7 separate regions of the Homo sapiens genome follow, and regions 1, 2, 4, 5, 6 and 7 are each linked to region 3. The links are contacts of gene promoters, found by promoter capture Hi-C in blood cells and fetal thymus (Javierre and others, 2016). All regions are on one chromosome and are shown on one strand. Each heading gives the region's core, a stretch centred on a gene start or on the middle of the fragment in contact. The rest is flanking DNA. Distances are from core to core; before and after follow the strand shown.

What was found. The method cuts DNA at HindIII sites, captures the fragments that hold promoters and counts their contacts. A CHiCAGO score of 5 or more calls a contact.
Region 1: a fragment that was not itself captured here is called in contact with the fragment with the promoter of ALDH1B1 in region 3 in 1 of 17 cell types (naive CD4 T cells); the score reaches 5.5 in naive CD4 T cells.
Region 2: a fragment that was not itself captured here is called in contact with the fragment with the promoter of ALDH1B1 in region 3 in 14 of 17 cell types (naive CD4 T cells, megakaryocytes, total B cells and 11 more); the score reaches 15.4 in naive CD4 T cells.
Region 4: a fragment that was not itself captured here is called in contact with the fragment with the promoter of ALDH1B1 in region 3 in 8 of 17 cell types (naive CD8 T cells, total B cells, total CD4 T cells and 5 more); the score reaches 9.6 in naive CD8 T cells.
Region 5: a contact is called between a fragment that was not itself captured here and the fragment with the promoter of ALDH1B1 in region 3, in 2 of 17 cell types (naive CD4 T cells and activated CD4 T cells). The highest score is 7.1, in naive CD4 T cells.
Region 6: a contact is called between a fragment that was not itself captured here and the fragment with the promoter of ALDH1B1 in region 3, in 2 of 17 cell types (monocytes and megakaryocytes). The highest score is 5.5, in monocytes.
Region 7: a fragment that was not itself captured here is called in contact with the fragment with the promoter of ALDH1B1 in region 3 in 6 of 17 cell types (megakaryocytes, naive CD8 T cells, total B cells and 3 more); the score reaches 6.8 in megakaryocytes.

Annotation. Positions count from the first base shown.
Region 1 is chr9:37,977,701-37,981,459 of GRCh38, forward strand. All of the region lies in intron 2 of SHB (SH2 domain containing adaptor protein B), which reads right to left. Among named protein-coding and RNA genes, the nearest start is that of SLC25A51, 75 kb to the left of the region's middle. The HindIII fragment of the contact is 4,096 bases long and covers 1-3,424 here.
Region 2 is chr9:37,921,999-37,925,462 of GRCh38, forward strand. The region is part of intron 5 of SHB (SH2 domain containing adaptor protein B); the gene reads right to left. Among named protein-coding and RNA genes, the nearest start is that of SLC25A51, 20 kb to the left of the region's middle. RefSeq lists enhancers at 356-455, 1,202-1,813, 1,314-1,608. The HindIII fragment of the contact is 3,831 bases long and covers 1-3,218 here.
Region 3 is chr9:38,390,953-38,394,727 of GRCh38, forward strand. ALDH1B1 (aldehyde dehydrogenase 1 family member B1) reads left to right here and starts at 1,750. Exons shown (of 2, transcript NM_000692.5): 1 at 1,750-1,855. RefSeq lists a silencer at 1,517-1,836 and enhancers at 2,047-2,096, 2,137-2,226. The HindIII fragment of the contact is 5,526 bases long and covers 1,203-3,775 here.
Region 4 is chr9:37,938,552-37,942,199 of GRCh38, forward strand. The region is part of intron 5 of SHB (SH2 domain containing adaptor protein B); the gene reads right to left. Among named protein-coding and RNA genes, the nearest start is that of SLC25A51, 36 kb to the left of the region's middle. The HindIII fragment of the contact is 1,413 bases long and covers 714-2,126 here.
Region 5 is chr9:38,017,749-38,021,244 of GRCh38, forward strand. All of the region lies in intron 1 of SHB (SH2 domain containing adaptor protein B), which reads right to left. Among named protein-coding and RNA genes, the nearest start is that of SHB, 50 kb to the right of the region's middle. RefSeq lists an enhancer at 1,264-1,558. The HindIII fragment of the contact is 1,310 bases long and covers 1,321-2,630 here.
Region 6 is chr9:37,996,967-38,000,302 of GRCh38, forward strand. The region is part of intron 2 of SHB (SH2 domain containing adaptor protein B); the gene reads right to left. Among named protein-coding and RNA genes, the nearest start is that of SHB, 71 kb to the right of the region's middle. RefSeq lists an enhancer at 712-1,213. The HindIII fragment of the contact is 7,612 bases long and covers 1-3,336 here.
Region 7 is chr9:37,958,740-37,962,152 of GRCh38, forward strand. All of the region lies in intron 3 of SHB (SH2 domain containing adaptor protein B), which reads right to left. Among named protein-coding and RNA genes, the nearest start is that of SLC25A51, 56 kb to the left of the region's middle. The HindIII fragment of the contact is 566 bases long and covers 1,351-1,916 here.

The sequences.
Region 1 (3,759 bases), core at 127-2,626, 410 kb before region 3:
GGGTCCTCATCACCTGTATTCGTCTTCCTCCGTTCTGAGGAGTGAAGTCTAGCCTCCTGTCTGCAGAATTCTGGGGGCTGAGGATACGGCAGCTGAGAAGGCACTGACCTGGGAAAACCACCTTCCTCTTCACCCTCCTTCACAAAAGCAGGACCAGCAACCACTCCCATGTACACAGTTGATGAAGTACTTTTCATGCAATTCACCATTTAATCTAAAGGAACCACAAACAATTCACAGATGTACTTCCCGTCGGGCCCCTGATAATCAGGAGTGCTTTTGCTCACTCTCACGCCAAAGAGATACTCAGTGAATGTGGTGGGATAAATGAAACAGAACTGACAGCCAGAAACCACTATTTACCCCCAAATTCCAGATACTTTATGAAAGTCCCTGACAGTAGTGATAAAGGATCTGGGACAATATGCCAAATGCATACAGTTTAGTGTTAAACAATATGCATTAGAGACAGATATTCTCCATAAACACCAGCCTTAAAGGGAAACATGTGCAGTGAACAGATTAGCTATTAAATCAGAGGACTTGTGCATACACCTCTCATGCAGGATTTATTGTTCCAGAAGCATCTGCACCTTACCAAAGCTGGACTAGTAATGGCATGCAGTTAGGGCAGGGGATGTTATAACGGTAATCATTAAAACAAGCCTCCCCCACTACATTACATGGCGAATTCAAATTTTCATTAAGGCCCCAACAATAGGGAAGAGTTAAGTAAATTATGGCATGTTAACTGGATGGAATATTAAGCAGCCATTAAAATGATCAATCTGAAGATTATGTAGCGACATGGGAAACCATGCAAGAAATTATGCTAAGCTAAAAAGTAAAATGCAAGATTGTTTATGTGTGGGGGGCAAAGTATAACGCAGGCTTTTTAAACAAGTCTCCGTCAATATGAGCAGGGCCCCACAGGGAATTCTGCTCCTTGCCTGGGCATTGGTAAATACTGACATCACAGATTTGGCCTATATCTACACTGTGATGACAGCAACGTTGTAAGTACAGACATCCACAACACCAAGAGCTGAAAAACCCAATACAGGAAGGTAAACAGCTACTGTGTAGAGGAGAAGGGATTATCGCGTAATTATTTTTGAAAGTTGTTTTAAATAATGAATAAAGACACTAGAGCAGAAAAAATGTAATTAAGATGAGCACATGAAAGAGAGTAAATATGATTTTAAGCAGGCTGGGCTTCCAGGAGCTGCGTGTATTTAGGAAGCAGCTGCCTTTCCCTGAGAAAATGCCCATTTGGGAGCATCTTCTCTCCTGGGAGAGGCTCACCAACAGCTCCAGGACATCGAAGGCCCTTGTGCCAGGCCAGCTTGCCAGATGTTGCTGCCTCCTGCCTAACTACCAGGCCCGTCTTCCTTATTAGCTGGGCCAATCCATGAGGGTCCAGAGACCGATCTCACAAGGGAGTCTGTGACCATATGTTTTAAGTCACAAGTTATCTGAACATCAGCATCTACACATTCATGCAAAATGACCTTTAATATTAGGTGGCAGTCTGTAATTTCATGCCTCTTAGGCAGAAAGCAGAAACATTAACAGGATGGGGGTTTCTGTTGACCTCTGGAGCAGAAAGGTTTGTAAACAGAACTACATACATAGAAAGAAAAGAAGACTAAAGCACTTTCTTTAGAATCAGAGAATGTTAGAACTGAAAGGGACCCTAAGAATTTGCCTGGGCCCATTCACCAGGAGAGCTAGGCAGGTGTGCTCCCCACAGACTGCGGCCATGGCGGGGTCTGCCCATGGGAATGTGGAGAAGGTAAGGGCTGGGGAAGAGAGCAGGCAGTAATCCTGAGAGGATGTGATGGGGGTTTAAAAGATTGCCCAGTCCACAAGCAACAAGCTATACTCTGCTCCAGTATTCACCAACTTAGTGCCTCCCTGAAAAAAAAAAAACAAAAAAACAACAACAACAAAAAAAACAGGCCCCCCCACCAAAGTTGGGTGCAGTGGTTCATGCCTGTAACCCCAGCACTTTGGGAGGCCAAGGTGGGCAGATCACTTGAGGTCAAGAGTCCGAGACCAGTCTGGCCAACATGGTGAAACCCCATCTCTACTAATAATACAAAAATTAGCCAGGCATGGTGGCAGGTACCTGTAAAATTTTTTGGTTTTCCAATGCACACAAAAGTTATATTTATATTATACTGTAGTTTATTAAATGTGCAATACCACTGCCTTAAAAAAATGTAGAACCTTAATTTTAAAAATATTTTATTGCCAAAAACTGCTTACAATCATCTAAGCCTTCAGTGAGTCATCTTTTTGCTGGTGGAGGGTCTTGCTTTGATGTTGCCGGCTGCCGACTGATCAGGGTGGTAGTTCCTGAAGGCTGAGGTGGCTGTGGAAAATTTTTTATGCCCCTCCCCCCAGCTGTGGGAATTTCTTAAAATGAGACAATAAAATTTGCCACATAGATTGACTCTTCCTTTCACGAAAGATTTCTCTTAGCGAAAGGCTGTTTTATAACATTTTACCCACGGCAGAACTTCTTTCAAAATTGGAGTCAATCTTTTCAAACTCTGCTGCTGCTTCATCAACTAAGTTTATGTACTATTCTAAATCCTATGTTGTCATTTTAACAATGTTCCCAGCATCTTCATCAGGAATAGATTCTATCTCAAGAAAACTGTCTTTGCTCATCCATAAGAAGCAACTCTTTATTTGTTCAAGTTTGATCATAAGATTCCTGCAATTCAGTTACATCTTCAGACTCCACTTCTAATGCTAGTTCTCTTGTTATTTTCATCATATTTGCAGTTACTTCCTCCACTGAAGTCTTGAAGGCCTCAAAGTCATCTGTGAGGACTGGACTCTTCTTCCAAACTCCTGTTAATGTGGCTATTTTGACCCCTTTCATGAATCACAAATGTACTTAATGGCTTCTAGAACAGTAAATCTTCCCCAGAAGGTTTTCAGTTTACTTTGCCCAGGTCCATCAGAGGAATCACTATCTCTGGCAGCTATAGCCTTATGAGATGTATTTCTTAAATAATAAGACTTCAAAGTTGAGATTACTCCTTGATCCATGGGCCGCGGAATGGATGTTGTGTTAGCAGGCATGAAAACAACATTCATCTCCTCGTACATCCCCAGCTGAGCTCTTGGGTGACCAAGAACAGTGTCAATCAGCAGTAGTATCTTTAAAGGAATCTTTTTTTCCTTAAAGTTGGTCTCAAAAGTGGGCTTAAAATATTCAGTAAACCATGCTGTAAACAGAGGAACTGCCATCCAGGCTTTGTTGTTCCATTCACAGGGCACGAGCAGGGTAGATTTAGCATAATTCTTAAGGGCTCCAGGATTTTTCAGAATGGCAAATGAGCACTGGCTTCAACTTACAATCACCAGCTGCATTAGTCCCTAACAAGAGAGGCAGCCTGTCCTTTGAAGCTTTGAAGCCAGGCATTGACTTCCCTATGGCTCTGAAAGTCCTAGATGGCATCTTCTTCCAATAGAAGGCTGCTTTGTCTACACTGAAAATCTGTTGTTTTGCATAGCCACCTTCATCGATGACCTCAGCTAGATCTTCTGGATAACTTGCTGCAGTTTCTACATCAGCACTTGCTGCTTCACCACACACTTCCATGTTATGGAAATGGCTTCTTTCCTTAAACCTCAGAAATCAACCTCTGTTAGCTTTTCTGAAGCTTCCTCCACTCTCTCAGCCTTCACAGAATTGAAGAGTTAGGGCCTTGCTCCAGATTAGGCTTTGATTTAAGGGAA
Region 2 (3,464 bases), core at 53-2,552, 470 kb before region 3:
GCCAGGGACACTCAGCAGGGAGGAGGGTATGACCCTGGGCACATCATTCCCCTCTGCGTGCATGCACTGAGTGGCCTTACGTTTTTGGGGTGCTGGACCAGCAGGCTTTGTGATTCTCACAGATCTATACCTGGGGGACAGAGTGGAGGAGGTGTCAGGCAGAGGGTCACAGCCGCTGGCGGGAACTGAGTCTGCCAGTGTGCAGGTATGAAGCTGCAGGGGAACAAGCCAGTTTCATTTTCAAGGTTAGGAGAGTAACTCACATGGGTGAAGGCAACATTTCATATGAATTTGTTCTACGGCATCTGGCAAGGGAAGTGGACAGTGATAGCAGCAATGGCTCTGACAGAGTCCGAAGCAGAAGCTAAGCTCCTCTGTTCCCAGGTTAGGGGCTTAGAATGGCCACCAAGTACTAAAAGCCACACAATGTCCTCTGTACCTTGGCTGCCGACAGATAGCGAGGTGGGGCAGCTGCCAGGCTGAAGAGAGTCTAGACGTCCCCGGGAAGTCCCTCCTGCCTGTCTGAGCCTGCTGTTTATCACCCCCAACACACTCCTATCTCGCCTGTGTAAGCACCCACGAGTTTACCACCCTGAGCCAGGCTGTGCCGATGGGGCAGACTGGTCATGAAGCTCAGAGACCAAGGCAGAGCTGGGACCAGCACTTGGGCTCCATGAACCTCTAGTCTGTGGCCTGACCATTCTCAGGCAGAGGGAGAAAGGCGCGTTCACATGCTGACCCTCCTGGGCTCAAGCACTGCACCCCGTGGGTTCCCTGGCCCTCAGGCTATCCTTGTGCCTTGCTGGGCTCTGTCCCTTCTCCTGCTGCATCCACAGGGAGGCTGACTAGATGACCCTGGGGGGTACTTCCAGCCCTAGATCCTGGATTCCACATGTGCAAAACATAATCTGCTGCCTACCCGCTGAGGGCTTCCTGCAGGAAGGGGTCTGCAAGCAGCCTCACACCTTCCCTCCACCGCTGCCCTCATCCCCAGTCCTGCTTTCACTGGGGCATTGGCCAGGATTGCCTTCAGGGACAATCCTTCCTGTAGGCCAGGCTCTATGTCCTGAAGCACCGAGGTGCAGAAAGGGGAGGTGTCTGGCCCAAAGTCACACAGTGATTATCAGCAGCAGATGCCCAGAGTCAGTGCTCCTGACCTCAGCACTCCCCAGACCTGAGAGAGGGCCTCATGTAACCCTCAGTGTTCCATGTGAAGCCAGGCAGAGGGGGCGGATGAGAGGCGTCAGACTCTGAGCAAACATCCCCTCCACGCTGATCTTCCGCCTCCACAGCGCCCATGGTGCAGGGCTGACGGCAGGTCAGAGACAGCAGAGGGGCTGGGAGTAAAAGACAATGTGTGGCACCCACACAAGGGGCTGTGCCGAGGATTGGAAATGGCATGTTCTGATTGGTGGAGCCCCCCAGCCTGAGAGGCAGGGTGGTGACCGCCCCCCCAGGGGTCCGAGGTCCCGAGACTATCTGCCAATCCTCGACCAATGCAAGGGTCAGGTGACGCCTTGTCCACACACAGCCAGGAGACATGCTGTGACAATACATTCTCATTGGTTAAGGTCCCCATGAGGGAGATGCCATCTAACAGTTGAAGATTTAAAAGCAGCTGCCAGGAGTGGCTTCAGTGACTCCCACCTTCACACAAAAGGAGACGCGAGCATGAGCAAAGGAAGCATGAGCACTTCTGTGGAGAACAGAGGGGTTCATCAGGCAAGGAGTATGGCTGCTCCAGGCAGCATGTATTCTGAGCTGCAAGCAGCCTGGGGGTCACCTCTCACTCCCCTGGGGTACCGTGGAGGAAACTGAGGCCAGAGAGTACACTACCCTGGCCCAAGGCGCACAGCAAGGCAGGCTGCAGGTGAACCCAGAGCCCCGGCCCCGCATCCCGAGCCAGCTGAGCCGGGCTCCGAGCCACATCTCCTCCCACCCTTCTTCAAGGCAGCATGGGCTTCCACACCTCGGCACCGTCATCAGCACCATCGTCGTTCAGGGAGGGCATTGCCCCCGGGGAGCTTCAACAGGCTGCTATGCCTGCCAAGCTCCTGCATCAGCCACATCTCCTTTGATAGGACATCTTGCGAGGGCAAAGTCACAATGAGAGGTGTCTCTGGTGGGTGACCTGTCTAATGAGTCTTGTAAGGCTGGCAGAGGCCGGGGTGCTGGAGCTGTCACAGGCGTTCAGATCGCTCATTATCATCACAAAAAGCACCTCCTCATCATCAGGATTATCAAATGTGCCGGGCACGCAGGGCTAATAACAGGCCCCACCTTGCAGCGCAATCACGGGCTTTAATAAAACATTACTCAGCCTGCAGCTGCCGGCCGCCGAGCAGGGTGCGAGGCCTCACCTCTCGCTTTTAGACCTAATTGCTTGATGCATATTTCATGAAGAATCCTGGGTAATAGTTATGTTAAATCGCTTCTTTTCATGATGAAATGACTTAAAAATACTTGCATATAATATTTATGCAGGAGAAGGATGGAAATTGGCCTTTGGGACTAATGTGTGGGACCCAGTTACAGGACTCCAGACACAGAGGGGATTTCTGGTTTACCTTAGCTTGAAAGGTGCATGGGGAGCTGCTGTCCTGACCCAGATGTCCCCAGAACATTAGCCCTCAGGTCAAAACCATCTAAGGCTCCCCATGGCCAAAACAGATATAACAACACCCAGTACTTCAAGAGCCCCTACTGGGTACTGGGCTCTGAGCTGAGCTGTTGCCACATATTATCTCATTTAAACTGTAGAGCAAACAACTTTAAGTTGTTAGAATGATCACTGTTTACAGATGGGAAAACTGAGGCTCAGGAAAATTGTGTCTCATGGGACATGGTAGGGCTAGGATTTGAACCTATGTTTGTTGAACTCCAAAGCCTGGCATTCAAGGCCCTGAAGCTCCCACCACAGCCTCATCTTCCTCTGCTCAGCTACCCGTTGGCCTCTTTCTGCCCCAAGATCTGGCTTCCCTGCAGCTTGGTGAGAACTGGAGGTTAAGAATCCTGTCAGCCCATTGTGATGTTTCTCAGCAGGCTGAGCCTTAGCCCCCTCTGGCCTCTGGGCACACATACATGCCTGGCACACAGCTGGGGCACTGTGCCCATCACCCATCCACCCATCTATCCATCCATCCATCCATCCACCCGCCCACCAGGGTCTGCCCAGAGCCGGGGCAATGAGGCCCCATGCATCCTCCCCTCCAGACGTAAGCTTCCCAGGGCAGGCTGGTGGCTGGTCGACCTTGTCCCTGACTGCAGCCCAGCAAAGGGAGAAGCTGCCCACTCTGAGGCTGGATACAGTGGATGCTTTCTCCAGTCAGCAACAGTCCCAGGACGAGCCAGTGAGAACTGGCAGAGTGGGAAGGACTGGGGAGCTTCCGGAGGGTCATCCCTATGAGGTGAGTACACAGGCACACGCTTTTCAAATCAGAAAGTCTCCCCCAGGGAGGCCACAG
Region 3 (3,775 bases), core at 500-2,999:
TCATTTTGCCATAAACTCACTCCCTCTATCAATGAGGCCTCTTAAGGATTGGTCAGTTAATCATTAAGTCAATCAGTCCTGGAGTGCTATGCCAAGTGCCCAAGGGGAGCTAGGCTGTCCACGTGCTGTGGGGGAGGCAGGAGGGCCTTGGCAAGGGGCTCATGCCGTTGCTGGAGAAACCCGAGGAAAGCATGGGCATCAAGGTGATAAGATGCCAATCATAGTGCCTTCATGGATGGCTAACTTTTGCAGCAAGGGCTGTGAACATGCTAAGGATGATATGGTAGCAAAAGATTCCATAGAGATGTAGCTTAAGGAAAGAACTAAGTGAATTAGGTCCAAGCAGTCGCATGTGAGCACCCTAGATCAGTGGAGAGGCAGGGATTTAATACAAGGAACTGGGTGCTTACAGACCTGCTGCAAGTGCCGGAGGCAGAAGCAAGCCTTAGCCAGACCAGGACCAACTCTCAGGACAATATGGACGTGGCCCACCAGCCTCGTGCCTGTCTGAGGCTACTTCAGACACCCTCCTGCAGCCTCCATTCAAAGAGCAGGAAGCCAGGTCAAGGAGCGGCTACAGCCACAGCGGCCGGTCCACAGCCAGAAAGCTGGAGAAGGGACAAGGAATGCTGCCGCAGAACATCTCCCATTTCTGCTATCCTGCTAGTGCCACCCTACAGGGGCAGGACAATACCCTCCAATGCGTGCCCGCCTTCCACATCCGGCAGAGTACTACTAATTGGCAGCACCTAGTCCACATCCAGAACTCTAACTGCAAATGAGGCTGGGAAACATGGCGGTTAGCTTTGGGACCTCCCTAGCCAGAAGGAAGGTGCAGCGAGGGTGGAGCGAGTGAGATGCATGTTCAGTGGTCCATCTTGGCAACCTTTATAGCAACAAAATGGAGACAATTAAATGTCCAACAGTTTACCCCTACAACAGAATTCTATGCCACCTTGGAGAGGATGATGTCATCTGTAATTAGTGATAGGAGAAAACTTCAAAATACAGCGCTAAGTTTTTAAATTTTTTTTAAAGCAGCACAACAGAGGTTACTATATGATTTTATTTTTATTAAAATAATTTTGAAAGATGCAGAGGAAACAATACTAGCAGGACGAACACCGTAATAATGGCTACCGTAGGTGAAGAGATTACAGGTGATATTTTTCTTCTTTTTTCATCCTTTCCTGTGTTTTCCAAGCTTTCTACACTGTGCATACATTCTTTTTGTCCTTAGGACAAAAATGTACTTTGAAAAATGCCCAAATATAAAATCTTCTTGAAGGAACTGAAGAAAGGAGCAGTGAAAGTGGAGGACAGAAATTAGTGAATCCTGGACAAAAAAAGTGAGGGAGAGGCGAGGCAGAGAAGGGGTTAAGGGGAGTCTCAAGGATGGCAGTCGATTAAGCAGCGTCTTGCAGCGGGGAGAAATGCAAAGTGTAGTTGGGGTTCGGTCTCCGAAAACTTTGCTGTGTGACCTGGGGAAGCCCCTGCCCCTCTCTGGGTATCTCTGTTTCCGCTCCCAAACCAGTGCCTTAGGAGCCTAGATCTGAGCAACGTGGACACTGGGCTTGCGGAGACCCGAGGGAGGGAGCGCTGAAGCGGTGCGGGCTGCCGGGGGTAGAGGGGCGGGGACCGGGAAAGACCGGGCGGGGCGAGGGAGGAGCGGCCTTGGCCGGCGACAGGACGTAGGCAGCGCCCCAGGCGCAGGCGGAGCCTCATTGGCCGCTGAGCCCCGGGCTGCGCGGAGGCGGGACCTGCGGCCAGCCCTGGGCGGCCATGTGGACAGAGCTGGGAGGGCCGGAACCAGAACCCAAGCGTGATCCTGAACCGGAGCCCGAGCCTGCTGCAGGTAACTAACGCTGGTCTCCCCTCGGCTCCCTCGGGAAGCCGCAGCTCCTGGCTCCGCGTGGGGGCTTTCCTCTCTGGGCCGCGGCGTCCGCATCTGGGGGCTGGCCTTTCCGCCGTTGCACTGTAGGACTCTCTCCACGTCCCCTAATCCCATCCCCCGCCTCTGGGTGACGCTACAGGAGCCCCGAGGACACAGACGCCCCCAGACCTTACCACGTTAGCTCGACCTCAACACTCCTGCCCACTCGGCCCACTTCAACAGAGGGCCCCTGACCATAGCCCAGAGGCTTGGACAAGCCCAAAGGTTGCGCCCTTTCCCCCGCAGAAGGGGTGAGGTGGGCGCCGCTGCAGTTCCCGCGGATAGAGAAGGTCCGGTCCTTCCCGCTGTGGGTGAACTGTAAAAAATTGCCTGTATTCAGGAGGATATGCAAAGCTAGGTTTGTGGAAGTCTGGGGTGAGGCTCCTATACTTTCTTGCTGTGTGTCCTCGGTGAGTCCCTGAACCTCTCTGATGCCCAGCCTTCTTCCAGAATGGGGGTCATCATCAACCCTGACCACCCAGGGACTGCAGAGAGGCTTGGCAAATTTCCCGTGAGAAGACAGCCTGCAAACTGTAAAGCATGATGCTCTGTGAGCTGTGATCTTCCTATCAGCAAGTGGAGGCCCCAGCAAGAACCCCATATAGGCCCCAAGAGTAGGAACGGCCTTGGTGTGGCTGCAAAGGTTTGCCAGCCTTGGCCTATGACCACCTCTCCTGACTGCTTCACCCCTCCAATCCTTACCCCATGGGTTGGTGACTCCCCTTTCCCCTACCTCCTTTTGGTCTCCTCACCCTCAGAGCCAGGCCTGTTGGTGGCAAGGGGGCTGTGTCCCAGCATATGGCAAAGTCCTGAGCTAAATGGAACCCTGGGCACCCCTGGCAGATCTGCTGACTCAGCTTCCCCCTGTGGGATATGATGAGGTTTCTCTTCAAATAATCTGATCAATCTTTTATTCTTTAATTCTTAGTATCCCCCCCTTTTTTTTTTTCATTTTTCTCCTTTTTGCCTTTGTTAGATGCCCAGGCATGCCACAGTACCAAGCGTTATCAGTACCAGCTCACATTCCTTTGCTTATTTGGAAAGAAGACTAACTTTCTAGCTCATTACAGACACCCTTTCCCCTTTCTCTCCACTTTCTTTTACGTGCCCACTCTATCTAAAATAAATCAAATGTTTAGCCAACCGGGATTAGTTTAGATTGTACGACCTGACCCCAGCCAATGGGGAAAGGGTACAGGGGCAGGACTTGCATCAGGAATAAAGGCTCTCGTGCCCCTTTGTTCAGGTGTGCTCTCATGGCAACTGGCCAAGGAGGCATCCCTCTGCGCAGAAGTAAAATTGCTTTGCTAAGAATCCTGTGTTCGAGTGTTCAATTTCCTTAGGATTTTGAGCATTATTCCTAACACCCGCAAGGGGAAGGGAAACTTTCTTGGTCAGCATTGATTATTATTATTTTTTTTAGATACAGTCTTGTTCTGTTACCCAGGCTGGAGTGCAGTGGCACAATCATGGCTCACTGCAGCCTCAACCTCCTGGGCTCAGGTGATTGCCCCCACCTCAGCCTCCCAAGCAGCTAGAACTACAGGCATGCACCACTATGCTCGGCAAATTTATTTTTGTTTTTTTGTAGAGACACGGTTCTTGCTATGTGCTCAGGCTGGTCTCAAACTCCTGGCCTCAAGCAGTCCTTCCACTTCGGCCTACCAAAGCGTTACCAGCGTAAGCCACCACGCCCATCACATTGATTTTTATGGGGCCGGGGACCTACATGGAGCCTTGCTTTCCTGATTGAGTTTTTTGTTCCTCTCCCTGCCCAGGGGTGGAGGGTGAGAGGCTGGGGGTGAAGGGACAGGCAGGTGCAATTCCATTTTACCGCTGGGC
Region 4 (3,648 bases), core at 170-2,669, 450 kb before region 3:
GCACGAGAGGTTTCCTGGAGACAGACGGGCAGTTGGAATGCTTCCCTGGTGGCGGAGCCGCACAGGCAGATTTATGTGGGCTGATACGAGACAATTAAAAACCGGCTGGAAATGTAATCGCGGCTGCTCAGATGCTGGAGAAGACCAAGGAGCTCCGGTAAAACAAAGGGCACTGCTCCATCCCTGGCTCAGACGGGAGACGCAGCAGTCCAGGGAGGGAACCCCAGCCTGTTGACGGGCACGTCTGGCACTGCCGGGTTGGGGGGTGGTGCACTGGGCCGTGAACTGGCAGAGTGAGGCAGAATGAGAGCAGGCACCTCTTGCCTCTGCGTTTTAGGCAGCATTGGGAAGGGGGAAGCTGAGCTGCAGGGAGTCTGTTTTCCTGGTCTTTTCCAGGTCTACGTTGCAGCCGGGAGAGCCACTATCCACCCAGCTGCTCCGAAATCTGGATGTGGTCCTTGACTCCTCACTCCTCCTCCCTCTCATCAATTCTACCTCCACACACCTCTCCTTTCTACTCCCACTGCCCTAGTCCTTCTCTCCTGATCTATATCACACACCCAGGGCCAGATAGGGCTTCCTAAACTTCTCTCTCATCAGGTATGTAGGCCGCCTGCCACTGGCCCCTCTGAATTGGCCTTGGCCTCCTAGTTTGCTACCAGATAGTCTCAGCATCATCAGCCTAGCACCTGAGTGCAAATGGAGAACTTCTAAGCTTAGCTGGAGCAAATGGCTGAGAAGGGTCAGGAAAGAACAGTGGTCCAGGAGCTGGGCAGGCTCAGCCTCTGCCCCTCCCTGACAACACGGCCTTAAGACAGGTTAAGCCCCTTTGAGCCTCTGTTTCCTCTTCTGTAAAGTAGGAGCAATGAGTTGCGCTTTCTTCACAGCTCCTTGAGGGCTGGACCCAGAGAAGAAACTAGACTCTTCTATTTGGGTCATGGATGCTGACACTGTTGGCTCAGAACCAGCCCCTCTGGTTTCAGGTCTCTGGGCTTTCTCCATGTCACCACTGCCTGGGGAAAGGGGTCTGAGAAATGCTGGGCACAGGGCTCATGGTCACAGGTCCTGTCAGAAAATCCAGCTTTGGTCCAGAGAACTAGTTGGCCATTGGCTGGGCTTCTCAGGGCCTGCTAGGGAGGAATGGGGGTGTTTCTATTCCGAGAGACCCCACAAGGTAGAAAGAGGCCTCGAGCTGTGTTGCAATCTCATCTCTTTACTCATTAACTGTGACGTAATGTGAACACCAGTTTCTTTATCTGTAAAAATGATGGCAATGGTTGCTACTCTTCTTGAACATACTATCACAGTGTGAAAGCTGGCTATTCCCAAATATCAGGCCCTGTGCTGGGCATGCTGACCCGTATCACCTCACTCACATGTTACAGCAGCCCAGAGCAGGTGGCGGGGCAGGATTTACACTTGCTGTGCTAGAGAGTAAACAGAGGGCTCAGAGAATATGCAGAACTCAAACTAGGGTCTGTCTGAACCCTTCAGAAAGGAAGGGTGCAAATCATGGTGACTAGTTTGGGATCCCGTAACTTGTCAGAGGCAGAGCTAGGATTTGAACCCAGGTCTCCTGGGCATAGGCCCAGGGCTGTTCCTACACTCTCCACCCCCACTGCACCAGAATCACCAAAGCACCAGGCTCAGAGTCCAGAAGAGGTGCCAGTCTAATGTTGAGGGTGGCGTCCTTGGCAATGTTTTACCACCAGCAGGGCACATTTTCTCAGTAATTCTGAATAAAGGGAAATGTCATCTAATATTCCTCACAGTGTCCCCTCAATGGTGCACTCTCTTATCCTGCAAGGCATCTGCACATTCTAAAGTTCACTGTTCTCATTTAGTCCTCTGCAAAGAGTGTTTGAGGAGTCTCTGTTTTGCCTACAGCAGTGGCTTCTAATTGTGGCATTTCTTTTAAACCTTTTAGAAGGAGAAAACACGAAGCACGCTAATTGAGCAGAAAGTTCATTTTTCCTCCATGAGCCCTGAAAGGACATGAAATCCTCCATGCGATAAGAGCAAAGAGACAGACCCCCTCTTCCCCCACCACCCCTGCTGCCCTGACTCAGGCTGGCTCAAATGCTGCTAGCAAACAGCTTGCCTGCTGGGAAAGCCAGAGGCAGGCAAGCTTCTTCCTCTTTCTGGGCCTCAGTATCTCCACTTGTTCAAGATATTGGACCAGAAAATTGAAAAAGTCTCTTTCTGTTCCCTAAACCCCAAGATTTCTGCTTAGGGTATTCCTGGAGCTGCTACCTTGACTGGCTGCCAACATGCTTCCCTATGAGATGAGGAGGCCAGACCACAAGTTCGGAAGATGGGCAGGAGAGCTGGAGGGGCAGCAGCATGGTGATGAAAAAGGATACCTGTTGAGTGGTCATCATCTCCAGCTCCTGATGAGCAACTAGGAGGTCAGAGAAGTTCACTCATTCATCCAAGGTCACACCAAAGCACAACGTACAGAGTGCAAGAGAGGTGAGAGGTTCAAGACAGGTTATCCAGGAAGAGGGGAGCCTGGATTGGACTCCAGTTCTGTGAGATTCTCTAGCATTCTTTCCAGCTGTAGCCAATAAAATCTAGAACCCATCATCGTAAAGGACAGTGGATGTGGGCACAGATGGAGACTTCCAGGTTGAACCCAGACAATTTGCAATGCACTGGGACACACCGAGCTCTTTCCCCAACAACCCGTGGCTCTCTGAGGTCCATAATAAAGACATTTGAGCTACCACTGATAGAGCACTCACTATATGCTGGAGCATATGCTAAGCACTTCACATATATTGTGTCTTCATTAATACACCTGTGAAACCCATTTTATAGATGAGAAAACCAAGGCTCAGAGATGTTCAGTCCCTTTGCCCAACACTACCCTGTTAGTATGTGGCGGAGCTGGGTTTCAAGAGCCTAAGCCAAGACCCAGAGCCATTGTCTTCACCGCTGTGCAGAGCTCCCTCTGTTGGGGGAGTCATGGGGCACATGGCCAGGAGCTCAGGGCCCCTGCAACCACTGCTGAGCAGTGTGGGGGTCCTGAGGCAAGCAGTACTGTACCTGAGCTGCACACACCTGCCTTCCCTGAAGTTTGCTCTTAAAAGGCTTCATCATCCCTGCAGGGGCCTGGCTGGGGAATACAGTGACCTACTAAGTCCACTGTCAGGTATTCAGGTATGCTGGGGCTGTGTGGGGAACTCAACAATGGCCAGGGAGGTCCCACTGTGGCCTTGCAGGGACCACCCTGGTGGCTCACACATGGGAGCAAGCAACCACCACGGAGCTAGGTGTCTGGAGTCTCAGATGTTAACCCAACAAGGGGATGCTTGGACGGCAGAAGGAAGTGGAGACTTGCTCCCTGCTGATAGATGAGGGGAGAGCAGCCTTTCCTCATATCCCCACTCCCACTGGCCCCTAAACCTTTATTATTTCTTTCTCCTAGCTGTCAGCAGCAACAAACTAAGATTAATCACTTGCCTGCCTGGACCCAGACATGCCTACTGTTTGAAAACTCTCTCCTTTGCTATATTAATCAATGAAGGGACAGACAAAAGAAAAACAACCCTAACTGCCACGCACCCCCAGTGCCCCTCAGCTCTTCTTGGCCCTGTTACACCCACCCAACCTCCTTCGGAGCTACAGGAGGTATTTGCCGGCTAA
Region 5 (3,496 bases), core at 726-3,225, 370 kb before region 3:
ATGCTGACATTGTAATGGCAGCCTTTCTTGAGACTCACTGAGCTCAAATGACACCAGGCCAGGGAAAGAAGGGGTGGGAGAGAGCTAGGCCTTGCAATGTCTTTCATTTGCTATTTCTACTCTACCATTTGCAGAATACATTAGGGAGAAAATTATACACATAAACTGCTGTCAAACGGAACAGTTCAGATGCTGGTCAGGTGCAGGGTTTTGTGTCTCAGAGTTCAAGGGGCCAGACATCCAAATGGAGAAAATGAGTTGCTGCTGTGGATGACATCTAATCTTATTTCTCTTGTCCCAGATTTCCTCACTGTCTCTCTTCAACATGAACATGCTCCATCTATTTTGCAATAAGGAAGGGAAAAAATGTCTCCCCTGGAAAACAAAATCATTTGGGGGGATTTGCTGGCGGGGTGGGAGAGGCAGTTGGGTTGCAGTCTCCATAGTAATCTAGAAATCGCCATTCCAGCTCTCAGAAGTGCTCTGTAATTTGCAAACACAGAGGTTTGCAGGATATAAACCAAATCTTTGTTTGCCCTGGGACAGGAGTTCTGGAAGGACTGTGATTCAGCAAGTGCTACCTATATTTTCTAATTAAAATGAGATCTGAGCTCAGGCTGTCATGGAGCTGCGGCTGCCTGCTCCACTTACTTCCGTTTCAGTAAGAATGTACAAATCCTAAAACCAGGAAAAGCCCCTGGTCTCTGCTGACATATGGTTCCAGTTATACCTGCTGACAGTTGAAAATCCTTCCATTGAAAAAAAAAAAAAAGTCTAGAATTCTGTTAGTTTAAGAAGCAAATTGGAAAGTTCCTAAAATGTATATTTAATCAATTTGCTTTTGAACTTCAAAGTGAGGTTGGTGGAGGGAAAGAAATTTGAGGTTTGAGCAACCTGAAACTTTGCAAACACTACACTGAACTGTCTGATCTTTTGCAAAATGATGTCCTAGTTTTGGGAATAAAAATTCAACCAGGTGTTAGGAGAGTTGAGCAGGCAGTCAACCAGAGTGCCCTGTGAAGTACCATGGGCCCCAGCCATCAGGACTGGGCAGTGTGACCACTGTCCAAGCTGCCTGGGGCTCACCGCCAGTCCAGATGGCCATGCAGAAGGTTTGTGTGAAGCGTGCTGCTTTTTTGAGCTAAAAGAAAGAGAATGAGTTTTCTCCAGATGTGAGATTGGATTTCTGACGGGATTGCTTTTGCTTTGCTTTAAAACTTCCCAGTTAGTGGACAACTCCTGTATATCTAATTGAACAATTCAACCAAAAGGGAGCCAGCCGGGACTCCTCTGCAGGCCAGGCCACCTGGGTCCACAAGAAGCTTTCCTTTTAGTCTCAGATTGGCAGAGACCTGGCAGCCACAGAGGCAGAGCTGAGCAGTAGCAGAAAAAAAGGCTGTAGAGTGCGGCTGCTTAGTCAGTGAGCCACGTCATCTTTTGTTTGCTCGGCCTCTTGGGATGAGTGCTAAACCCCAGGCAAGCACCTTTCTTGCTTTCAGACAAAACTACAGACCCCAGGTCAGCCCAAAGCCCCTACAGGGCTTCCACAGGTTTGTCCTCCTGGAGACCTGCTCTGACCTCCCCTTGTTTTCCACAGGGCCCACTGCAGGGCGTTGTCAGTCACCTAGCAAACCAGCAGTGGCCTGGGGATGGCCTCTCCATGCCTCCTCTCTGGAACGCACACTGCTGGGGCCCCTGTGTTTTTATCTTAGAAACTTCACTTTGTGATAGGAAGTAGTCTGCAGCTGTTCATCCCAAAGGAAAGGACTAGAGGAAGGTGGGTGTTGCCCCTTGGCCACACTTCCCTATGGACTGGTCAGAGTTTTAGTTGCTTTTGTGGGACAGCTGCACTTGTGAGCAGAATTGGGTCCTCTCCACATGCTTTCAGTGGAAATGCACTTGGGTGGAGACACTTACAAGGGTAACTTTGGGCAGAATCCATTAAAATCCCCAAATGCGCCAAGTTTGACCCAGCAATTTTACTTCTCAGTATTTATTCCCAAATGTGCATAAGGGTCCATGGGAAGGATGCTGCCTGAAGTAATCATGAGAAACCACCCGAAACTACTGCATCCATCAATAGAGGAATCGCTAAATAAACTGTGCTAGTTCCATACGATGTAACATTATGCAGCAGGCTGAAAAAAAAAATTTAAAAAAAGCAGTTGCTCTGTGTGAGCTGGCACAGCACTCCATGACATAGCTCTGAATGGAAAGCAAGCAAGCTGTAGAATGATAACTACAACATCATACCTACTTAATGAAAAACAAAACAGAAACCTGTATCTCTATTAAGTTAAAGAAAGGGTCTGGGAGATGCACACTCCAAACTGACCCCTCTTTGGGAAGGAGGGAAGGACTTGGAATGGGGTGCTTAGGGGAAGTCAAAAGAGACCTTCTCTGCAATGTTAAAACATTTTCAAACAAGGAGAACCTATTCATGTACTATGTGCAAAACTAAACTTGCTTAAAAGCACTCCTCTTCCACAGGCTATTTTTGGTACAGTAGACAGAATGTTTCCCAAACTTGCCTGAAGACAGGAATGGCTTGGAACGCTTGTTAAGGAAACAGATTCCTAGCCCCAATAATCTGTATTTTAACAAGCAAGCCAGGTGATCCTTATCAGGAAAGCTTGGGAAACAATAAGCTAGAGCCAGCACCCTTCCCCACCAGTCTAGAGACAAGCCTCCAGATATTACTCTGGAATTGTACTTTTCCCAGGTATTGCTCAGCCCTGTTCGTTGAAGTGAAGCAAGAAGTTTGTGCTAACATGCAGCTCTTTTGTTTTCTTCCCTGGTGGTCAACTGGAGAAAAAGAGGACCCGACGTGCCATCTCCAGGATCTAAGACATGGAGGAAATGGTAACCCCTCTGCAATCATGTGGGCTGGCTCCAGATTGAGCAATTCGGCCTGTGCAGGGGGAGAGGGCTACCAAAATCTCACAAATCACCACTAAAGAACTTAGTCATGTAACCAAACACCACCTGTTCTCCAATAACCTATGAAAATAAAAATTTAAATAAATTTAAAAAAAGACTTCTGCCCTGTCACCACCCTGAAAGTGACGGGGTGGGGGGGTGGCCCAACAGGGATCCTAGCCCCGAGGATCTTGCAAGGCAAGGCTTTCTGTTTGAAACCCACAGCAGCTTTCAGGCCAAGGCCAATTTACTCTCAGCAAACTCGTTCTAGGAAGATCACCCGGCTACAGGAAGGGCTGGTGGCACTTCAGAAGAGGAGCCACTGCAGAAATGCAAAGGGAATCTCTGCTGAAATTGCTCAAACCTGCTAAAAAGAATGATGAGGCATGTCCGGGCTTAGTGGCTCACATCTGTAATCCCAGCATTTTGGGAGGCCGAGGCGGGCGGATTACCTGAGGTCAGCAGTTCGAGACCAGCCCGACCAACGTGGAGAAACCCAGTCTCTCCTAAAAACACAAAAAAATTAGCTGGGCCTGGTGGTGCATGCCTGTAATCCCAGCTACTTGGGAGGCTGAGG
Region 6 (3,336 bases), core at 700-3,199, 390 kb before region 3:
GTGTGTCTGCCTGGTGTCAGGAGGATTTCAATGAGCTCAATAGTCTGAGTCAGGGAAATGGGAAGCTGACAGGCAGGAGGTGGGTGGGAGCAGGTGAAGGTTCAACAACTCCAGATAGTCCTGTGGGTACAGTCCAAGCCCCTTAGGGGGCTCAGAAAGCCCTTTATGAACTAGTCATCGAACATCTTGGCAGCCACGTCTCCCCTCTGTAAGTTCTTGAAGCTGCAGCCATGCCGGCCACAGGCTGTATCTCCATTTGCAAGCCATCCTTTCCCTCTTCTCTACATGACACCCACCTCTGAGTTAACTTCAGGACCCAACTCAGGTGTCAGCTCAGCACCTACGAAACCACTGGTGGGTCCCCAGAGCCACTAGCTAGTCCTCTCCTCCAGGTCTGAGCTTGGGCTGCTGCCTAGACAGCCCCTTCCCTCCTGGCCTGCTCATCTTTTAAGACTTAGGCCAAGCTCCAATTCCTTGGAAGCCTTTCCTGCCTCCTTTTCCCCTGGAACCTGAGTGATCGAAATACCTCTGTGGAGGTCCCCACAGCGCAAAGTAAAGCCCAAGACATGTCAGACCTGAGTCCACATCCACTGGGGCTTGGATCTCATTTATGTCAATCTCTGGACGCCCAGTGTAGAAGCTGGCACAGGAGGGTACAAAATGACTGCAGAGTGGGCAAAACTCCTAAAGTACTGCTACCCCAAGTTATCTCATCTTTGTGGTTGGCCTTCTGGGCTGTCCAGCTCCACCACCTCAGGACTGGAACCCTGTACCTCTCACATCACAGAGACACGGAGGCCGAGGCACTCTGCTCCATCACCCCAGGGCAGATGGCCAGCTTATCAAACAACAGCTGTCCAGGGCGACAGCAGCTTCTCACTGTGTGACAAGGGCAAGTGGCAGAAAGGACAACAAGGCCCTGGGGGCCTGAGGCCCAGGAGGAGACCCTGCTAAGGGGCAGAGGGCCCTGGGATGGGATGGGGATGAACAAGAGTGATGCTTCTTCCTGGCTTGTGGTACCCACTGTGTCCAACCGAGCAAGCAGAGGCAGTGGCAGGACAGCCCGTGTGACAGGCACTTGCTGCATTCTGCTGTGGTGGAGCTGCTTTCTCTTGTAAAGTGCCGCCGTGCCCAACTGCCTGCTTGTAAAGGGGAGCGCGACGGGGATTTACAGCATTCCTGTTGCTCTGAGCTCTGAGTTACGATTCCAAGGCACCAGTGGCCGGGAGCAGGCAGCTTGGAGGGAGGAGGGAGGAGGGAGGGAAGCACTAGGGCCAGGGCCCCAACACAGTACTGAGCTGGACCGCTATCCTGCTGGCCTGGGCTTCCTGACCACCAAGGACTCCATAAACGGTAAACTTCCCAGAACTGCAGGCGCCCCAGAGACTCACAACCTCCCCCACCACCCTCAGGGCCAGATACATGGTCTCTGCATCGCCTGTTTTCAAATCCAGGAAAGCACATGTTCTGATGGTCTCAAAATCCTATTTTGTTTATTTATTTAAAGACAGGGTCTGGCTCTGTCACCTAGGCTGGAGTGCCGTGGCACGGTCTCAGTTCACTGCAACCTCCACCTCCTGGGCTCAAGCAATCCTCCTGCCTCAGCCTCCCGAATAGCTGAGACTACAGGCACACGCCACCACGCCCAGCTAATTTTTGAATTTTTAGTAGAGACGGGGTTTCACCATGTTGCCTAGGTTAGCCTCAAACTCTTGAGCTCAAGCTATGCACCCTCCTCGGCCTCCCAAAGTGCTAGGATTACAGGTGTGAGCTGCCCTGCCTGTCCTCGAAATCCTATTTTGAATGCTTATTTTTCAGGGACAAACAGGAAATCCAAATGATTAATATGTTTGCAGCCATTAAACTGACTTCAAAGGCAAGGATGAGATGGAAGCAGAGGAAAGGCCCATTTTTCATCCAGTTTCAACCAGCTCTTCCCAAGAGCCAAGCTCTGTGCTAGGCTCTGGGGAACCCACTGTGAGTCACTCAGGCCCTGCCCAGGCTGCTGGAGGAACTCAAGAGCAAGGCAGAACAAGAGGGAGGAAGTCCCTGCGGGATCACAGAGCCCTGGGGAGCCCCTCAGTGAGGAGGACAGTGAGCGTTTACACAGGAAAGCAAGTGGGTGATGGGGTGCTGCTGGACCCTGGGAACCCTATAGGGTGTGGGATTTGAGGAAGGCCTGGAAAGTCTGGGCTCAGATCTGAGGAACCCAGTGGAGATCTCTGAGCAGGAAAGTAACATGATCTAGCCAGGCCTGGGAAACTCATCAGGGGACAGTGAGGAGGGATCTGTGAAAGGCTGAGACTAGCAGGCGAGCTGATCTCACTCTGTTCTCAAACCTCCTAGCTTCTCTCCTCCCTGAGGTCTCTCTCCTGCAAGGGGTGAAGGAAGCCTGCTGCAGACTCGGGGTGACCAGGAGCTCAAATGGCTGCTCCACTTTATTCAGCTGATGCACATGCAAAATGACAGCTGTTTCAAATACACTAAAAAAAATTATTTAAAGGTATATATGCTACAATTAGGCCCAATTCGAAAGTAGGCTTCTGTGGAAAGATATCCCCTAGGGAGGCTAGTGTGACTTGAGCTCACAAACAGGTTTCTGGAGTGCTGAGTGGAAGCTGCAGACACCAAGCGCCGCATACTGAGTGGAGGTCTGACAGAGACTGGGGACAAACAAAGGCAGCCGAGGCAGCAGCCCAACCACCAGCAGCACGTGGGAGGCTTCTGTGTTCTGGGAGATTGTGTCCCTGTGTGCATCCAGCGTGTCTTTGTGTGACTGCCACCACTACCAGGACAGGTTAGCACTAAAGTCACCTTAGGATCTGGCTGAAGCCTTGACTTCAGAGATGGAGAAACTGAGGCATGCCTTGTCCAAGCTCAAACCGGCTGTCGGAGGAGCTGCAATTCACTCCTGCAGCCTCCAGCTCATGACTCTCTCCACTAGTCACCCCATGCCCTCTACCCCCAGCCCTGTTCTATTTGGCCATTCAGAGATTTACAAGATTCCAGTATGAATCACAGCTTTGTGAAGGCTGACAAGAAGAGCCACGAGGCTGGGGCACCACACCTGAGTGGGTGGTTTCCATTCCTTTCCACAGGCCCAGGGCTGGGTCCTCAGGACTTGCACAGGTAGCTTCAAGGAGACAACAGAACGGATGTCCATCCCTCCCACAGGCAGTGGAGAGAGAAAAGAGAGGGAGCGAGAAGTCAGCGAGAATTGCTGCTGCTGGCAGACCAGGCCAGGCCAGACCACAGCTTGAACAACTGAAGGAGACCCCAGGCCTAAGCTCTTTGCTAAAGCAGGGACTCTCTAACCATGGGACCATCTGTCCCAGA
Region 7 (3,413 bases), core at 384-2,883, 430 kb before region 3:
ACATCACCACCAGCATCTACCCCTCGCTGGCCTTCCAGTAGCCTGGATCTCCCAGTGGGGTTCTGGCTGAATGACGGCACCCTGATGGCAACCAATCATGGGACATATGGTCTTGGACAGGGGGTTGGGAGAAGGAGAGAAAGAGGTGAAGCAGGTTCTTACCCGAGCCCCTACTTTGCAGAGCCCTCCATGGGTGACCTTGGGCAGGGGAGAGCACTGGGGCTAGACAGACAAATTGGGGCCATGTCATCCTGGAGCCCCTTTCTAAAGAGCTTGGACTTGAACTTATAGATGGGGATAATCAGAGAATGGGCTTTAGAGACCTCTCTGAGTGCTGGTGGAGGGTGGGTTTGGGGTCAATCCTGAAGACGGGAAGACCAGTCAGGGAAAGGTGATGGAGGCTGACCCCCTCAATGACGGGAGGGATGTAGAAGCTTGACTACTTGTGGGAGTGAGTCCGGGATAACTGCTGTGTGATGCCCAGATTTCTGGCTTGGGGGAGGGTGATGCCCCCATTGGGATGGGCACAGAAGGGGATGTGGTCAGGGAGCATGGGACTAGCCTGCACTTCTCCATGATGCCTCCCTGCTGCTAATTTTCTGGTTGTCAGGAATAGAGAGGATACAACTCAGCAGGCATCCTGGCCCATAGGGCTGCCAGCGTTGAAGGGCTGCGGCTTGCCCTGGCATAGGAAGGGGACTAAGCTGGAAGTGAGGTTCTAGGCTTAGTTTTGCCACAGGCTCAGGAGACCGAGGGACCAGATGAATTATAAGTCACTTTCACTCCTGACATCCTGGGGCTCCACTGGCTAAAATCAGGATTGGGGGATTTCTGCCAATATAAATCTCTACAATCGACATCCCGACACAGAAGGTGAGCAGAGAGGCATGGAGCACAGAACATGATTGTGGAGGGAGCCCAAGCTTTTCGGCACAACCCAAAAGGCTCTCTAGGACCCGGCTGCTTGTCCAGCCTCAGGTCCACCAATCTCTTCACCTCACTAATACCACTTACCCTCCAGAGGTCACCTATTTCAGGAAGCCTTCCTGGACCTCACCTCTCCCAAGACTCACCTTGATCTTAGCACCCTAACTGCATGTCCTACCCTGGCTCCCGGTGAGCCCCCTGAGGGTAGGGGCTGTATCATGTGCCCCTTCCCCCATACCTAGCCCATTACCGGCAACATAACAGGTGCTCAATAAGTGATTAAATGAAGAAACTTAATGAACTGCTGTTTAGCTTTATTGGGAAAAAAAAATCGGTTTCATACCAGATAAATTGGATAAAAACTAGTAACGTCCTAGTCAACAATGTAATTCCCCACTGAAATAATTTACACATTTGCTGGCAAGCTTAATAATATAGCCATATATCTTAGAGAGAACAGGTGGTGATGAGTGACAGGCTTAATTAGGCAAATCATTTCACCTAAAATACAAATATACAAACTCCAAGTGCAGTGATTCGGCAGCCTAAGAAAAAAAATGTTAAGAACAAAAGCACCAAACACAACTGCTCTCATTCCTTCTAATTACGTTTCTCCTTAATCTGCAATTTAACATGGCAATTCTTTTAATTTAGTGATTTTTCTGCAAAAGATAAAGACACAGTCCTTCAAAAGAAGATCTGCATTTAGAGAAAAAATATGCTACCCCCGTGAGTCATTAGAATGACAGAACCTAATTAATTTCACCTATGGGCAATTAAAAATGGAAGTTGGAATCTGAAGGAGGAAAGTAAGACTCAGAGCTGTGCAGGTTGAGGCTCTGGGAGCCCTTCTGACTTTGGTTCCAATGATGGGGACCAGACCCTGGTGGTTGATGGAAGAGAGAGGCTGGTCAATGTTTTTCCAAAAGTTCTGCCATGGTGGCAGGACTCATTCCTTGAGACCCAGCTCAAGTGCCTTGCTTCTAGGAAGCTTTCCTGGCCCTCCCATCTGGATTGGTCCCCTTTCTGCTTGTATGACAGATTTTACACCAATCAGTCCTAAAATGTGGTCACTGCCAACAACAGAAGACAGCATCCAAGACACCTAGCTTAGCTCTATCCCTCCTACTGGCCCTGCCACGTGGGTAATGGGTGAGGAACGGCGGTCCAGAGGAGTAGTAGGAGGAACTCCTCCAGGGTCTCAAAGCCAAATAGCAGGGTGAGGGTCAAGCCCAGGACTGCAGGCCTGCAAGGTCAGGCTCACCCCACCCTTGGGTCTTCATTCCCCACAAGAATACCTGAGGGCTGCTGGTCTGGCAGGAGCTGGGCCTCATTCATCTGGCCTCCCTGCTGTGCACTTCCTACTTCTAGGCCTGGAATTACTGCCCTTCTGCTCCATCTGAATGATGTCTAGGAAAGGTCTGGCACAAACGCCACCTCCTCCACAAAGCTTACCCTGATGCCACCTGCAGAGAATTATCATCTCCCTCTTGGTGGCTCCCAGCCCTCAGTACATCTCCTGTAGCTCAGGGGGCATCCACACCACTCTTCTCAGTCAGCCTGGGTGCTGTGGGTGCTGCGCCTGGGATTTATTTTTCTTTGCCCTCTCCAGTCTCTTGTCTGCCCCTAACTCACAGAAGTTTCATGTGGAGAAGGTGCTTGGATGAGATAAATGTGTTCCTTCAGGGTGGATCTCTTTCCACTGTCCTGTCCACTGTTCAGAGCTGGCCAGAGAGTAAACTCCAAAAAGCCGATGGACCTCTAAAGCATAGCTCTCCTGGGTTTGCAAACCCTCCCTGCTCCCCAGTGCCCCAAGACAAAGGACAAATTCATTCTGGCGCTCAAGTTCCTCTGAATTTGATGTAATGATGCAACTTCCCCTACAAAACCCCTGTGGGTTCCACACCCACCCTTAGGTTCCAATCACAAAGGACAGCCAGTCCCCAGATCTATCATCTGCCTTTTTGTCTTTAGGGCTTTGTTTGGCTAAGTCTACCCTCTAGAATCCCTTTACTTCACTATTTCTCTGCAAAAACCCCAGCTATTCTTCAGAGCTCAGCTCCAACGTTATCTCCTGGGGTAGGTTTTGCTCTAGACCCCCAGGTAGAATTCCTTTCTCCTCCTCTGAGCTCCAAAGTCTGCACCACTGTCCTGGCACTGGCCTCTGCAACACTGAGGCATGTAGGTGTCTTCTCAGAATTGGACACTTTGCAGAGATGGGGCCATGTGCCTCAGTCTCCTCGGAGTCTCCCCATGGCCGACCTGCAGCTAGCTCCGATGAATGGCCCGTGGCTGAAACCCACCCAGGGAATGGAGGAGCTGCAGTGACTCGACTCACAGTTTAGGAGTCAGGAGGACCTGGGTTTGAATCCTGTCTCTGTCATTACTGAGTGACTTGGGGCATGTTTCTTAAACTTCTTTGAGCCTTAGCTGCCTCATCTGCAAACCAGGGCTGACAATACCTGTACCGTGAAGGTAACAGATGA